Regions from separate parts of the Homo sapiens genome. Here region 2 is linked to region 1. The links are contacts of gene promoters, found by promoter capture Hi-C in human tissues and cell types (Jung and others, 2019). All regions are on one chromosome and are shown on one strand. Each heading gives the region's core, a stretch centred on a gene start or on the middle of the fragment in contact. The rest is flanking DNA. Distances are from core to core; before and after follow the strand shown. Region 1 holds the start of GPR61 (G protein-coupled receptor 61). Region 2 overlaps CYB561D1 (cytochrome b561 family member D1).

Region 1 (6,553 bases), core at 1,146-3,645:
TCAAATCATCTGCCCGCCTCAGCCTCCCAAAGTGCTGGAATTACAGGCGTGAGCCACTGTGCCCAGCCAGCATGATTATTATTATTATTTATTATTTGCCCACAGGCTAGAATAAGCAGTTCCCCCGCCGACCTCCTGAGCCAAGATGGTTCCAACAGCTGGAACATGCTGCCTCTTTGGTACTGCCTTTCCCAATAGCTCTCTGGGAGGGGCTTCAGGACACGGACGCCTTGCCTGCTGGCCACCACATGAGCTGTGATTACCTGTGCTAGCTCCCTGAAGCTGGAGAGGCAGGCTATGTTTGTTTTGCAGGCTCCCTACCACTATTAGATAAGCTTGGAAGTGAAGAATTTTGCCCATTTTCACAGACAGCCAACTCACAGGCCAAGGTCTTACCACCAACCAATAGAATGGCGCCAAACTGGAACCAAGGTTTTCTGACTCCAGTCTAGCGCTCTTTCTAAAATCCTGTTCCAGTGGGCCCAGGTCTGCTCCAGTTCTTATTGAATCCCTCGGAAGGGGCCATGCCAGTCTGGGCTGGGGCCCTGCAGGAAGAATGTGGGTGCTGAGCAGGGACAGGCTTTACCTAATCCCAGACAATCTGCTTGATGCCAAATTAATCTTGCCAACACAACAGCACAGGGCTTCCTAAAAATCACTTTGCTGTCTACAGGTTTTCAATTTGGTATTTCCATTTGAATTTCTTGTACGCAGGTATGCCTAATTTTGAGGTCTGTTTTAGGCTTTCTGGAAGGCAGTGACTACTTCTATGAAGATAGCTTTTAGGGCTGTAGTCCACAGTCTTGTGTCAGGCCACTGGAGAGGCCACGGAACGAAGGGAGAAGGAGGAGGAAATACTTGGACTTCAAACAGATCTGGGTTCAAATATCAGCTCTTGCACTTATTAGCTGTGTGATTTGGGGAAAGTCACTTCTCCTCCAGCACCCGGTTCCTCACTTATAAAATAGGGCAAGTCATGGCTGCCTCATAGATTGGTGTGGGGATCAAAGAAACTGTATGTAAAGGGCCTGGCACTCATAACAGCTCAAAAAGTGGTGGCTGGTGACAGCGGCACTTGCTGCATCGGCTCTTGGTTTGTCAGTGGCCTCTTTGTTTTTGACCTGGGGCTTGGGGCAGCCAACTTGTCCCAGTGAGGTCCTTGGGTAACTCATTGTTCTTATGGCTCTTTGGGTTGGGTCTGGTAAACAATTCCAGAATTCCCTTTTTCCTTCTTAGAGGCAGAAGGAGTCCCTAGATAGGCAAGTCTCAGGGAAGCAGGCTCTGGAGTAGGGGATCATGCCTGAATTCCCTGTTTAGACTCATGGCTCTGCCATGTGGAGCTATGTGGCTTTGAGCAATCTCTTTATCTCTCTGGGTCTCAGAAACATGGATACCTTGGCCTGTAGGATGTCCTACAGCTTTGCAATGTTAGGATTCTATCCTTGGGTATCAGTCATGTACCCGGGTAAATGATCATTTTCTTCATAGCTAGAGGGAGGCCATGCCCCTTCATTGCGTCTCTGAAGGCCCATCATGCCACAGATGGGCGATGCTCAGTGGCTGATGCTACCTAGCTCTGTCCAGTCCCACAAATCCAGATCAGTGTGAGCATTCCTGAGTCCCTGGCCCCCACTCTGTCTCCTTCAGGAAGCAGTGTTGTGGTGGTTCCCATGGTGGCTCGGGGGGATGTTAGATCCTCCCGCCCCCTCCCTGCCAATCTCCATCAGCCCTCACAGCCCCAGTTCCAATAAACATACAATCTAAGCAAATAATAATAATGTGCTTTTGGGAGGCAAGGGCAGGGTTAAGACAAAGCCTTCAGCTGCCCTTCAAACCTGAGTGCTGCTCCTAAACCTGTCCCCCATACGCATTAGGCAGCTTCCAAAGGGGCCAAACCTTGGACCATCCCCTGGAGCCTCAGCCGCCTCCCTGGCCTAAGCCTTGGGGCCCTGGGTCTGCGCTGACCTGCCTGCATCAGCACCTTGGTTCTGATGTCACACAGAACCATGCATCTCTCCTATCTTCTCTTTGAACTGCTAAGAAATCAAGGCCAAAATGCAACTTGCCCAAGGTCACACGGCTAGTAAGTGCCATAGCCAGGCCTTAAACCTGGATTTTCTGACTCCATGTACTTTTTTTTTTACTTCATCAGGCTGGTCAAGAGGGTCTCCCCTACCTATCATTTCCTGGCCCCACGAAATTTTTGAGACGCAATCCAGCAGCCTGAGAGAAGTGAGAGGAGTTGAGCTCACTGCCAGGCACCTTGCCTGGGGCATTGGTGCCCACCTTTTTGCTCCAGAAGTGACTCTGAGGGGCTGGGTGGGAAGCAGGAGGCCATTAGGACCCAGAGGCTCTCGGAGCACTCTGCTTTGCCGGCTGCCTCTCACCGCTCACTGCAGTGCTTCAGGCTTCAGCAGCCTTGGAGAAGCATCAGCTGAGAGGAGCTATCACATGGGAGCCGGGACTGCTCAGCAAAGGTAGGAGTTGCCGACTAGGCCAGGAATGGGGGCCAGACCCAGAGCCTGGTGGTGAGTGCCAAGGTATCCCCACAGAAGGGTGGCTTTCCAAGGACCAGCCCTGCCTACATTCCGGTGAGCAGTTTGATCAGGAGATGGGCTCTCAGGTATCCCAAAGGCGGTATTGGGGTGTGGGCATCTCTGAAGCCCAGAGCTGGGGGGTTGATCATCTCCTGCCGGCAGGAGTACCCACATCCTGCAGACAAACAGCATTCTCCATCTGTCTTGCTCCATGTCATGGACATGGGTCTCCCACATTCTAGGAATGGGCCCTTCAGCATACAGGCTGATGGGCAACTGTGTCCTGGGCGTGGGCAACTCTGCTGAGGAGAGGTGTTGTAGCTCCCTGGAAATCTTCCCTAGCTTAGGAGGGGCACGCTCTTGTCTGAAGGAAGGCCAGGCTCAGGTCTTTGGGATGGAAGCTCTGGATCTGGAAAACAGGTGCATGTGAATCCCAATACCTCTGTGGCCTTGGGCTGGGCACTTATGCACATCTTGCATCCTGTAACTTGACCATGCCCCTGCTAGAGGCCCAGACCTCAGGCCCTAGTGGCAAAGCCTTCTAGGTACTGAAGGTCCTGGAGGTAAGAGGGGTGCTGTTGGAAGTAAGTAGTGGGGGAAGGAAAGCATCTGTTGGGGGAGTAGGCATAATGATATGACCTGGGAGAGGAGTGAGGCTCCCTGGGTTTCACCTATGAAACTGTTACACCACAGCCCTCCCCTCCATAACCCCAGTCCATTAGTGAGGGAGTGCCCATTAGCCAGATACACTGATCTGTCTGTTAAGAGGTAAATTGGAATCCTGGCATTTAGGAGTCACTGTGGAGACACTGGCAAGCTTGAGGGAGCTATGAAAAAGAGCAATGTCCAATGCCTTCTTGCTCAGGGCTCCATCATGGCTTCGTGGCATCCCTCCAGCTCCACGTGGAAACCAGGTCTGCTTCCCTCCGTCTGGGACTCTTGATGTCCATCCAGACATGGTGGGCCTCTCCTCCTTCAGCCACCAGGGAGGGACTCTGAACCACATCCTCTGGGCCTCACTCACAGACAGAAGGGATAGGTAAATCAGAGCATGGAGAGTAAGAAGGAAGGATGCTTCTCCTAGCATTTCTTTCAGGCATTTTTCCTGGTAGACTCTAATGAGAAGCTGATGTCTCACTTTTGTGCCCGCTCTTCAACTTCTCTGCAGACTCTAAGTCTCTGTGGGCATCTTAACTGTGAAATGAGCTTTCTGTGTCCCTAGAGAGAGGCACGTCTCTAGGCAGTTGCCCAAAGTTAGGGCTTCCTCAAGTCCAGGAACCCCGGCTACCCTTTCCACAAGAGAGTCCCTTGGCTGGCACACAGCTGGCTGACTGAGTGTTCTTGGAGTTTGTCCTAGGGGGCAGGGATTCAACTACCAATTTGAGTTTGATTCAATTCACAAAATTGTATTCAGCACCTATTGCATGCATAGCATGTTAGAAGTTGGATTGGTGTAAGGTTTATGGAAACACCAAAAACCAAAGGTGACTGTAAGGCTATAACTGTGGAGGAGAGTGGGGCCCATCTTGCCATGTGATCCTCTTTATTGCAGCCATAGAAATGATGGGTTTTTAAACTGAGCAACCTCAGTGTCTCCTCCCTACTTCTTGTTCTGTGACTGTAGTAAGTCTAGAACCAATGCGGCTCTTGGTCAGGGATCCTCCAAGGGTCAGCTCCAGAGATCAGAGATTTGGGGATCTGGGGAGCAGGAGGTTGGCAGCAGCTCCTTTCCCACAAGAGGGGCACAGTGGCCTTGAAGAGTTCATGAGTGGGTGGAGAAGGGCAGCTTGAAGCAACTTCCGGCTTTGGGAGCAGTGGAGGCTGGATGAGCTGGCCTCCCAGTTTCCTTCCAGACGGGACATTTTGTTTTCACTGCTCCTACTCAACATTCCCAAAGTGGCAGCTCTTTGTGCTGGGAGTAGTGATGTCAAAAGAGCCTAAAGCACAGCTCCCCTTTTCAGATGATAACCCTAGGGCAGCAAGAGACAGTTTTAGAGACAGCTGAAATTCAACAACTATTTACTGGATGCCTATTATAGTCCAGCCGGCACGGAGGGCACCTTCACATATGGCATGGCACAGTGGGCAAGAGTACTGGACCTGGGGCCAGACTGCCCAGGTAGGTGCCCAGCCCTTGCCGCTTACTAGCTGTGCGACCTTGGGTAAGTTACTTAACCTTTCTAGACCTCAGCTTCATCTCTTGCAAAATGGAGATAAAAATATTATCTACTTCATAGGGTTGTGTGAGGAATAAAATGAGTTAATATAGGTAGAGTGCTGAGAACAGGGTCTGGCATGTGGAAAACGCCGTATCAATGCTACTGCTTGTCATTAGTATTATTATTAACAAATCACGCAGGATCCAGAAACACAGTTGTGAAGCAAGTGTTCTTCCTTTCATTTTACAGATGGATTTATGAGGAAACTGAAATTCAGAAGATTCACAGAGTTAGTAATGCCCAGAACTGGGACTAGAAACTAAATTTTGTGCTCCTTCTACTCCCCAGCAGCTCTTGCCATTCTGAGGAGACAAGAAATCAGGAAATTTACATAAGGAACCCTAAAACTGAGGCACTATCCCAGAGATCAGCAGGACCCTGGGAAGGAGAAACAGGATTTAGAATCCCCGGCTAACAGTTCTGGAAAGGGTAGAAGGGTATGGAGAACAAGAATGGCAGAAAGGAGATGGAAAAGGAAGAGGTGAAGGCCATTCCGAAAGCGGAGTGTTGAGTGGGTCAGGCTCCTGCACCTCTCACGTCTCCTGCTTCTTAGCAGTCACCAAGGCAGACCCTGCAGCTACCTCCGGCCAGAAAGGGGATGAGCTTCTGATCCTTCAGCTGCCTGGCCTGGCGCTCTGTACGCAGACAAACCTGCCCAAGAGGCTCCAGTGGGAGGTGCCCCCTACGAAACCAGGAAGCCTGGGCCTGGGCTCGCCATCCCAGGGTCGCTGGACTAGGATGGGGGATGGGCCTGTGACAGGAGGTACCCTGGGTGCCCTCTTTCGGCCCCATGGAGTCCTCACCCATCCCCCAGTCATCAGGGAACTCTTCCACTTTGGGGAGGGTCCCTCAAACCCCAGGTCCCTCTACTGCCAGTGGGGTCCCGGAGGTGGGGCTACGGGATGTTGCTTCGGAATCTGTGGCCCTCTTCTTCATGCTCCTGCTGGACTTGACTGCTGTGGCTGGCAATGCCGCTGTGATGGCCGTGATCGCCAAGACGCCTGCCCTCCGAAAATTTGTCTTCGTCTTCCACCTCTGCCTGGTGGACCTGCTGGCTGCCCTGACCCTCATGCCCCTGGCCATGCTCTCCAGCTCTGCCCTCTTTGACCACGCCCTCTTTGGGGAGGTGGCCTGCCGCCTCTACTTGTTTCTGAGCGTGTGCTTTGTCAGCCTGGCCATCCTCTCGGTGTCAGCCATCAATGTGGAGCGCTACTATTACGTAGTCCACCCCATGCGCTACGAGGTGCGCATGACGCTGGGGCTGGTGGCCTCTGTGCTGGTGGGTGTGTGGGTGAAGGCCTTGGCCATGGCTTCTGTGCCAGTGTTGGGAAGGGTCTCCTGGGAGGAAGGAGCTCCCAGTGTCCCCCCAGGCTGTTCACTCCAGTGGAGCCACAGTGCCTACTGCCAGCTTTTTGTGGTGGTCTTTGCTGTCCTTTACTTTCTGTTGCCCCTGCTCCTCATACTTGTGGTCTACTGCAGCATGTTCCGAGTGGCCCGCGTGGCTGCCATGCAGCACGGGCCGCTGCCCACGTGGATGGAGACACCCCGGCAACGCTCCGAATCTCTCAGCAGCCGCTCCACGATGGTCACCAGCTCGGGGGCCCCCCAGACCACCCCACACCGGACGTTTGGGGGAGGGAAAGCAGCAGTGGTTCTCCTGGCTGTGGGGGGACAGTTCCTGCTCTGTTGGTTGCCCTACTTCTCTTTCCACCTCTATGTTGCCCTGAGTGCTCAGCCCATTTCAACTGGGCAGGTGGAGAGTGTGGTCACCTGGATTGGCTACTTTTGCTTCACTTC
Region 2 (7,144 bases), core at 516-3,015, 39 kb before region 1:
TGCCCGCCTCGGCCTCCCAAAGTGCTGTGATTACAGGCGTGAGCCACCGTGCCTAGCCAGGTCTTGTTTTGAAAACCTCACTGTGGGAGATTCAGGCATCCTCCCTAAGCCAGCTGGCCGCTGTGCTAAAGCCTGTTCAGAGTTAATAATAATCATTAGCTGAATGGTGCTGGGGCCTTTCAGCTTCAGATCTCTAAGCACTTGCAGGCTGAGTCAGTCAGCCCTCACCTTCCCCCTCCTTCCTGGGCTGCAGAGTGTAACAGAATGGGAAGGCACTGTGGGAAGGAAGTCAGGAATCTTGCTGCTAGCCACGCCTTGCAGTGACTTCTCGTCTGGGAGTGGGCACTGAGTCCTCTCAGTAAACTAATAAGACTTGCACCTGACAAAGGTCAAGATATGTAGGGAACACAGTGTATGCTAGGCTGAGACCTATGGTGGTGGCAGGGGTGGCTGTTGAGCCTGAACTTCCAGTACTCCTGCCCTTCCTTCTGTTTACCTGGCTTGGCCTACAGGGGGCACCCCTGGTCTTGATGCCTCAAGCCCAGCATTTCTGGGTCCCCTCTGCAAGCTCAGAGAGCAGGGAGGCTTCTGGTAGTGCTCTTGATGCTCCTGTGTCTGGTTGGCACAAAGATCCTGTGTAACATGAAATGAAAGGTGCATCAGCTTGGGGGCTGGGAAACCTGCAGTATGGGTTTACTCCGTCCCTATCACTGGTGTGGCTGTGGGCAAACCACTTATTGCCTGACCTACCTCACAGGGATGTTGTGAGGGTTTGATGAGAGAATGAATGTTAATAGGAATTGGAAAATTCAAAGCATTAAACACATGTAAACAGGTGGTATTATTATGTTCTTGTCCTTCTCTTTCACTGAGCCAGGCTTTGGGCTTTATGCTTCTTAGGCAATAAACAGTTATGGATAATGACAGGGGATCTAAGTCTCAGAGAGTTGTTCTGGCCATCATAAGAAAACATGGACACATTTCTTCCTTCCAGATGCAAGGTCAGCTCTTACCAACTCCTGCCAGAAATGCCACCACGGCCATGACTAGTGAAGTTTGCCGTAAGTGCTGCCTACCTGGTGTTCCCAAATCACAGGGCAGACTGCAGATCTCGGAGTCAGTACAATTCCTCCCTAGGTCCAGCCTGAAGTTCCTGGAGCTGGTCTTCGTAGGGAGCTGCAGGTCACAAGTCTATCTAAATCTCTCCTAATTCTGCCCTTCTGAGGGAAAAGTGGAGCAGACAAGCTAGGAAGGGAGGAGCAACTGGAGCAAACAGCATCGCCACAGACCCTCTGTTTACCGAAGCCACAGAATGAGCAACACCTGCCTCAGGCATTGGAGATGCAGAGCAGGGACCCCTGGCTTCCCAGGGTCCACAGCCTGGTTTCCCTTTCCCCATTTCAGGCTCGTGGAATAGGATCAGTCCCCTCCTCCTCCAAGTGCTTTATTGGCATTCACATACACACACACACACACGCACACACACACACTGAAAGCAGTTCTGTTTAAGTTTTAAATTGGGGAAGAATACTTTCCATTCCATTTGTCTGAGAGCAGCAGCAGTCTGCCTGGAGTGGATGCAAAGAAGCAGGAACAGCAAAACAGCAGTGCAGAGGCTTGAATATTCGTTTTTTATCTTAATTGCTTTTTCTGTCCTGGGATCCAGGAATGAAACACTAGTCAGGCATTGTGTGCAGAGCCTCAGCAGTTCTCACCAGCACTGCACAAAGACGACAAGCTGAAAGGCAGAACTGCCCTGGAGGGTGGTTTGAAGTAGCCCGTCTCCAGCATGGCGCTGGGCTTAACCCCTTCATGTAGGCAGAAATTACCTCCAGTGAGGGGACCTTCCCCCTACCCACCCACTCAGGAGACTCAGCTAGTCACCAGATGCATCACAGAATAACAATCTCAGTTTATAATCCTGCTATTGCTAGGATTTCCCAGATGAGTTTTTAACCTCTGTTGGAAGCAGATTAAGGAACGACTTCAGGCTATTCAGTGGCATCTGAGGAGCCAACTCTGTCTCACTGAGTATACATGAGTGGCCCCCTAGCACCCCTATCTTTAAAGCAGATACCCAGTTATCTCATGGTGCTTTCTAAGGATGCTCAGTTCTGCTCAGGCCCCCCAAAAGCAAACTATGACCAAGTGAGGGAGCAGTGGGAGGTAAGGGAAATGCAGCACAAAGTACAATCCAACTCCAGTACTTGCCAACCTGTATGTGTGCGCACATGCACGCATACACCAGCCTTGGAGGCAATGACTCCTGCCTAATGTATGCCAGTGCCAAAGGGCATCCAGAAGTCCCACTGCAGGGCTCCACGTCCTGGCTCACTGCAGGTTGGTTCTCTCAGGCCATGGTTCCAACCAGGGAGAGTAAACAAGCTGACTAGATTGGAGGCGTCAGGGCAGGTCTAAGTGTCTTCACCATTTTGCATTTTCCACCTAAGAGTGTAGAAGCCTGATGAAGGGGCTTGACTGGCAGCTGCTTTAGCCTTCCTCTCTCAAGCCCCAGGAGAGGAAGCATTCAGCACAGGCTGACTGTGACTAGACCAGAAAAGCCAACCGTCCCACTGCAGGGGCCTGAGCCTTTTCTGCTATGTGGGTGGAGAAAGTGAAGCTTCCCCACTGGTTTCCTGGGAGATACAAGATAAGTGGTGCAAGAAGTGCATGCAGAAAGGGAAGGAGTTGAGAGACTGGGGGGAAGAGAGGCCAGGTTAACCAATGCACTGAACTCTTACCTATTCTCAAAGAAAACTGTCATATTAGCCTCCTCCCTCCCCGCAAGTGCTACCTAAGAGGAGCCAGGGTAAGTGCTGCAAGGCATGGCAGACAAAATTGCACATCTTGGCCAGAATCTAAGGAACTTCTTGTGGTTTGGGGGAGGTGGTGAGGATGTGGGTGGTGGGTGGGTGGGGGGTGTTGAAGAGATGCAGCCATGGACTTCCTTGGGCTTGGCACAGGCCAAAACAGAAGAGAGAACTCCAAACTCCAAGTAGTCCTCATCAGACTTGCTCTCCTTATCAGCTTCATCCTGTCAGCCAAATTGTCAGCCATAGAAAAACTGCTTTGCAGATGAAAAACTATATAAATGCAGAGTATGGGAGTGCTCTGACATCAACAGCTGTCATTTCACTGACTGCCAAGGTTGACTTGTCTGATGTGGCTGGTTGTGCAGTAGCTCCACCCCTCGTCACCTTGGTTGTTCCTCCTGAAGTGAAAAACAACTTTCCAAATAGAGGAGGGCTGCCCTTCGGTCAAGACTTTAGGTAAGTATTCAAATTCGCATTCTTTTAATTTTTTTCCTGGTATCATTTCCTCTCCCTCTTTGGAATCTGCCACGACAGCCCCCTTCTAGAATCACCAAGAGAGGAGCCAAAGAATCAGCATGGTTAGAGTTTTAGAGTCCAGTCCAATTTCTGGTAGGCTGAATCTGTACCAAAACGTAGGGACTGCATTTTTCTGTTCCACGCAATGCCTAGGACACACTAAACTGTCAAGGAAGATTAACCTGCCCATTAGGTGAATATACTTTTAGCCTAAGATGGCTACCATTTACAACATGAAAATACTGATAATAAAATTCTGTGAAAGTGAGCTGCTGCCCACCATTTTTTAAAACCCAATCCAAGCATTTTTTCCATGGTATGGTCAGTAGGCTTGATCCAGACTTTTAAGAGAACTCGGCAGGGAGGCAACCCTCTGCCCTAGGGATCCAGGAAGACTTCATTATCTACAAGCCTCAGCGAGCGCCAAGTCATGGGATTTCTAAACTCTAAAGCTTCAGTGACATTTGAGAATCTTAGGGGTCAGCAAAGTATGGTCTGTTGGTCAAACCAGCCCACTGCCTGGTTTTATGTGGCCTGTGAGCTAATAGTAGTTTATATATATATATATATATATATATAACATTTTTTTTTTTTGAGATGGAGTCTTGCTCTGTTGCCCAGGCTGGAGTGCAGTGGCGCTATCTTGGCTAACTGCAAGCTCCACCTCCCGGGTTCACCCCATTCTCCTGCCTCAGCCTCCTGCGTAGCTGGGACTACAGGCGCCCACCACCACACCCGGCTAATTTTTTGTATTTTTAGTGGAGACGGGGTTTCACCGTGTTAGCCAAGATGGTCTCGATCTCCTGACCTTGTGATCCACCTGTCTCGGCCTCCCAAAGTGCTGGGATTACAGGCGTGAGCCACCGCGCCCGGCCTAGTTTATATATTTTTTAATGCTTGGAAAAACTCAAAAGGCATGTTAAAATATGAAATTCAAATTTCAATGTCCATAAGTCAAATCTTTTTTGGACCACAGCCACAGTCATTCATTTTTGTCCTGTCTGTGGCTACACTCAAGCTATAGCAGCACAGCTGAGTTGTAACAGAGACTGTGTGGTCTGCAGAGCCTAAAATATTTACTATCTGGCTCGTTAGGGAAAATGTTTGCTGACCCCGGTCCATCTTAATGCCTAGATGTGTATTTCACCCATGTCCGTACAATAGCACTTAAAGATTTTCTTCCTAGATAGGACACACCCTTCTGAGGTACAGTGAACCCCACCCACAGGCTGAAAAAATAAACCAGTCAGATTGTGCCAGAACAGAGACTCAAGCCAGGTTTAATGATCATTGTCTAGTTTTCAGAGCCCAGAGGCTCCAAGATTTGCCAGCCTAGGTGTACACAAGTGGGAGGAATGGGGTCTTGGACACGGGAGGCCTGCTTGCTTTGTCAGCAGAGCTACGAGGAAGTACAGAGGTAAGAACACACAGAAAACTGGATCCATCTGCTTTGCTCTCCCCAGCTGGGGTGTACCCTCTCCTGGCCCCTTTCTTGGGCCCCATAAATACAAAATAATAATAATAATAATAATTACACAGATTGTAGAGCCCTGTCATCCTCTGTCTCCAGGGACACCTGCTTCCTGGGAGACATGTCTGGTTTATGGGTGTGGGGTAGGGTAAGAGGAGGTGGTGATCTCTCGGCCTTTTCTTATACCCACACCTGGCAGTTTTCAACACAGGGTTCTAGTGCGCTTACATATGCTGATTATTCAATTCTCCAATTAAAAAGCTACCTTTGGGTTCTATCACCTGAAACCACGGGAAGAAACAAATCAAATCTCTTGGTAGGGCAGCCAGGTACATCTACCAGGTGTCTCAAACTCAAGGCCAAACTAGTGGATATAGTCAGGAGACTTAAGAGCCACAGGGCCTTTTCTCATTCCCTAAACTGGGTAGGAATTATGAAGAAAACGGCCCTCCCAGTCCTCAGGAGCTCCATCACGATGCCCCAGAAGGCCTGCTTCATTTAACGCTCACTTTAAAGATCTTCAGAGCCCTAGATGGTGCCAAGCGGGGAGACTGCAGCATGGAGATGAGATTTTCCCAGATTTCCTGATGAGTCTGAGGAGGGAGTCCTAGTTCCTATAGCTCCAGTAACAAAATTCTCAGGAGTCTCTGGAATAAATCAAGACAACTTTTCTCTCCTGAGGACAGTTAACAGGAAGAGCAGCTCACAGCTACTTAGCCCCTTGCCAGTTTCCTTCTGAGTCCTTCAATGACCTAGTTCTATCTTAATTGCTCATATATTGCTCATATATATAGTCTTCACGGGAGGTTTCTGAGGAGTCCAAAGAACCAGGTAGCTCCTTACCACCTCTTCTCCCAAGGCCTTCAACCCATGGTTCTTCTAACTCCAGCCTGGGCAGAAAAGTGATTCAGTGCCATGGAGATGTGGGTGAAGCTTCAGGGAGTTCAGAAATGAAAATACAGGAGTGTGTATTTGAAGAGCCTGGCATGGTCACTGTCTCTCCTAAAGAGGAATACAATTGTGTGCATGAAGTTGTGCACATTGGTGGAGACCATTCTGAGAGTATCATTAATGGGGACTACAGATTCACTGTCCTGGTGGAAGTCAAGGTGCTGGTGTGCATGCATACCTATAAGCATGCATACCTATGAGCATGCAGGTACTTGAGGGAAATGCTGCACCTCTCTCTCAACAAAACTAGGTTACTAATAAAGGATGGACAGCAGTCTTGAGTTCCCAGGACCAGACAAGGGGAAGATGTTGAGTCCCCTTCCCCAATCATAATAGGAAGCTTAATAGTCAGGCCCTCCAAGCCCCTCACCCACAGGTAAATGACACCTCTTAGAATGTAAAAAGAGGTCAGAAATCTAGAGGATCTGGAGAACTTCCAATGGACTAGAAACGTGGGAGAGAAGAGACCCTAAGAAAAACCAACATCAGAGAACATTTTCACCTTCACCCTGCTCATCCCCCGCCAAAGCTCAGAGCAGCCACTCACAGGGCATGCAGTGTAGTCAAAGGGAAAGGTTAAAGGGATCGGTCATCTCCATACTCAAAGTATTCTGCAACCTTGGATGGAATGGAATGTTGAGCTCATTCTTCTTAAGTTCCTCTGGCCTCACAACCACAACTGCAAAGACCTCTCGATGGAGGAATGGGGTGGCAGAACTCCCCTTCTGAAAGTTTAGTACTACTGATTATCTCTGCTTCAGGATTGCCTGGAATCTGTGGAGAGGGCAGAACTTGAAGCTGCACTCCAAATTGCCATTCTGGGGTAGAGACCACCCAATTCCAACCCTTCTGATGTCAAAACCCCATGCTTTGACTTTGCAGCAGAGGTGGTATCTCTGAGAGGAGCAAGGCAACCTTGTCCACACAGAGGAGATATATACTGGATTTTCACTATCGCCAAGCCTACTCTAAGCCAGCTGGGGCCAGGCTTTCTTGGACTCCTCCCTTTACAGAGCAGCATATTAGGGAAAATTCAGAATCCCACCTGAGCTTGATAAGGAGACTGGATGAAGAGATGGCATACATTGAGAATCAGCTAGGTCCAGCTGGATGCTACATAATAGAGGCTGATTTACCTTCATCCTTCTATCGTGAAGTGGGCCCATGTACCACGTCTGTGGCAGGCATCCATAAAAGCTCTGCCTTCAGCAGCCCCCACTCTGGCCTGACACACAGATGCTGGGAATCAAATACTAACCAAGGGTTTCACCAACCAGGGAATTAGCCTATCTGGAATTCACCCCCCATCTACAAGTTTCGTGCTGGCACCTATGCTGTGACATGGACCCTTCAGTTCATGCTATAACCCTCTGTGCCATTGGTCCCAGGACAA

Evidence for each region. Contacts are between HindIII fragments. The study calls those that stand out against the background at their distance.
Region 2: a fragment that was not itself captured here is called in contact with the fragment with the promoter of GPR61 in region 1 in 15 of the 25 tissues and cell types used here (H1 embryonic stem cells, IMR-90 fibroblasts, adrenal gland and 12 more).

The regions. Positions count from the first base shown.
Region 1 is chr1:109,537,477-109,544,029 of GRCh38, forward strand. GPR61 (G protein-coupled receptor 61) reads left to right here and starts at 2,396. Exons shown (of 2, transcript NM_001393907.1): 1 at 2,396-2,477; 2 at 4,946-6,553. The coding sequence starts at 5,547. RefSeq lists enhancers at 1,909-2,410, 2,411-2,910, 6,215-6,553. The HindIII fragment of the contact is 6,013 bases long and covers 1-5,988 here.
Region 2 is chr1:109,499,595-109,506,738 of GRCh38, forward strand. It overlaps CYB561D1 (cytochrome b561 family member D1), which reads left to right. Exons shown (of 3, transcript NM_182580.3): 3 at 1-841. AMIGO1 (adhesion molecule with Ig like domain 1) reads right to left here. Exons shown (of 2, transcript NM_020703.4): 2 at 4,584-7,144. Among named protein-coding and RNA genes, the nearest start is that of AMIGO1, 6.6 kb to the right of the region's middle. RefSeq lists an enhancer at 1-394. The HindIII fragment of the contact is 8,294 bases long and covers 1-5,912 here.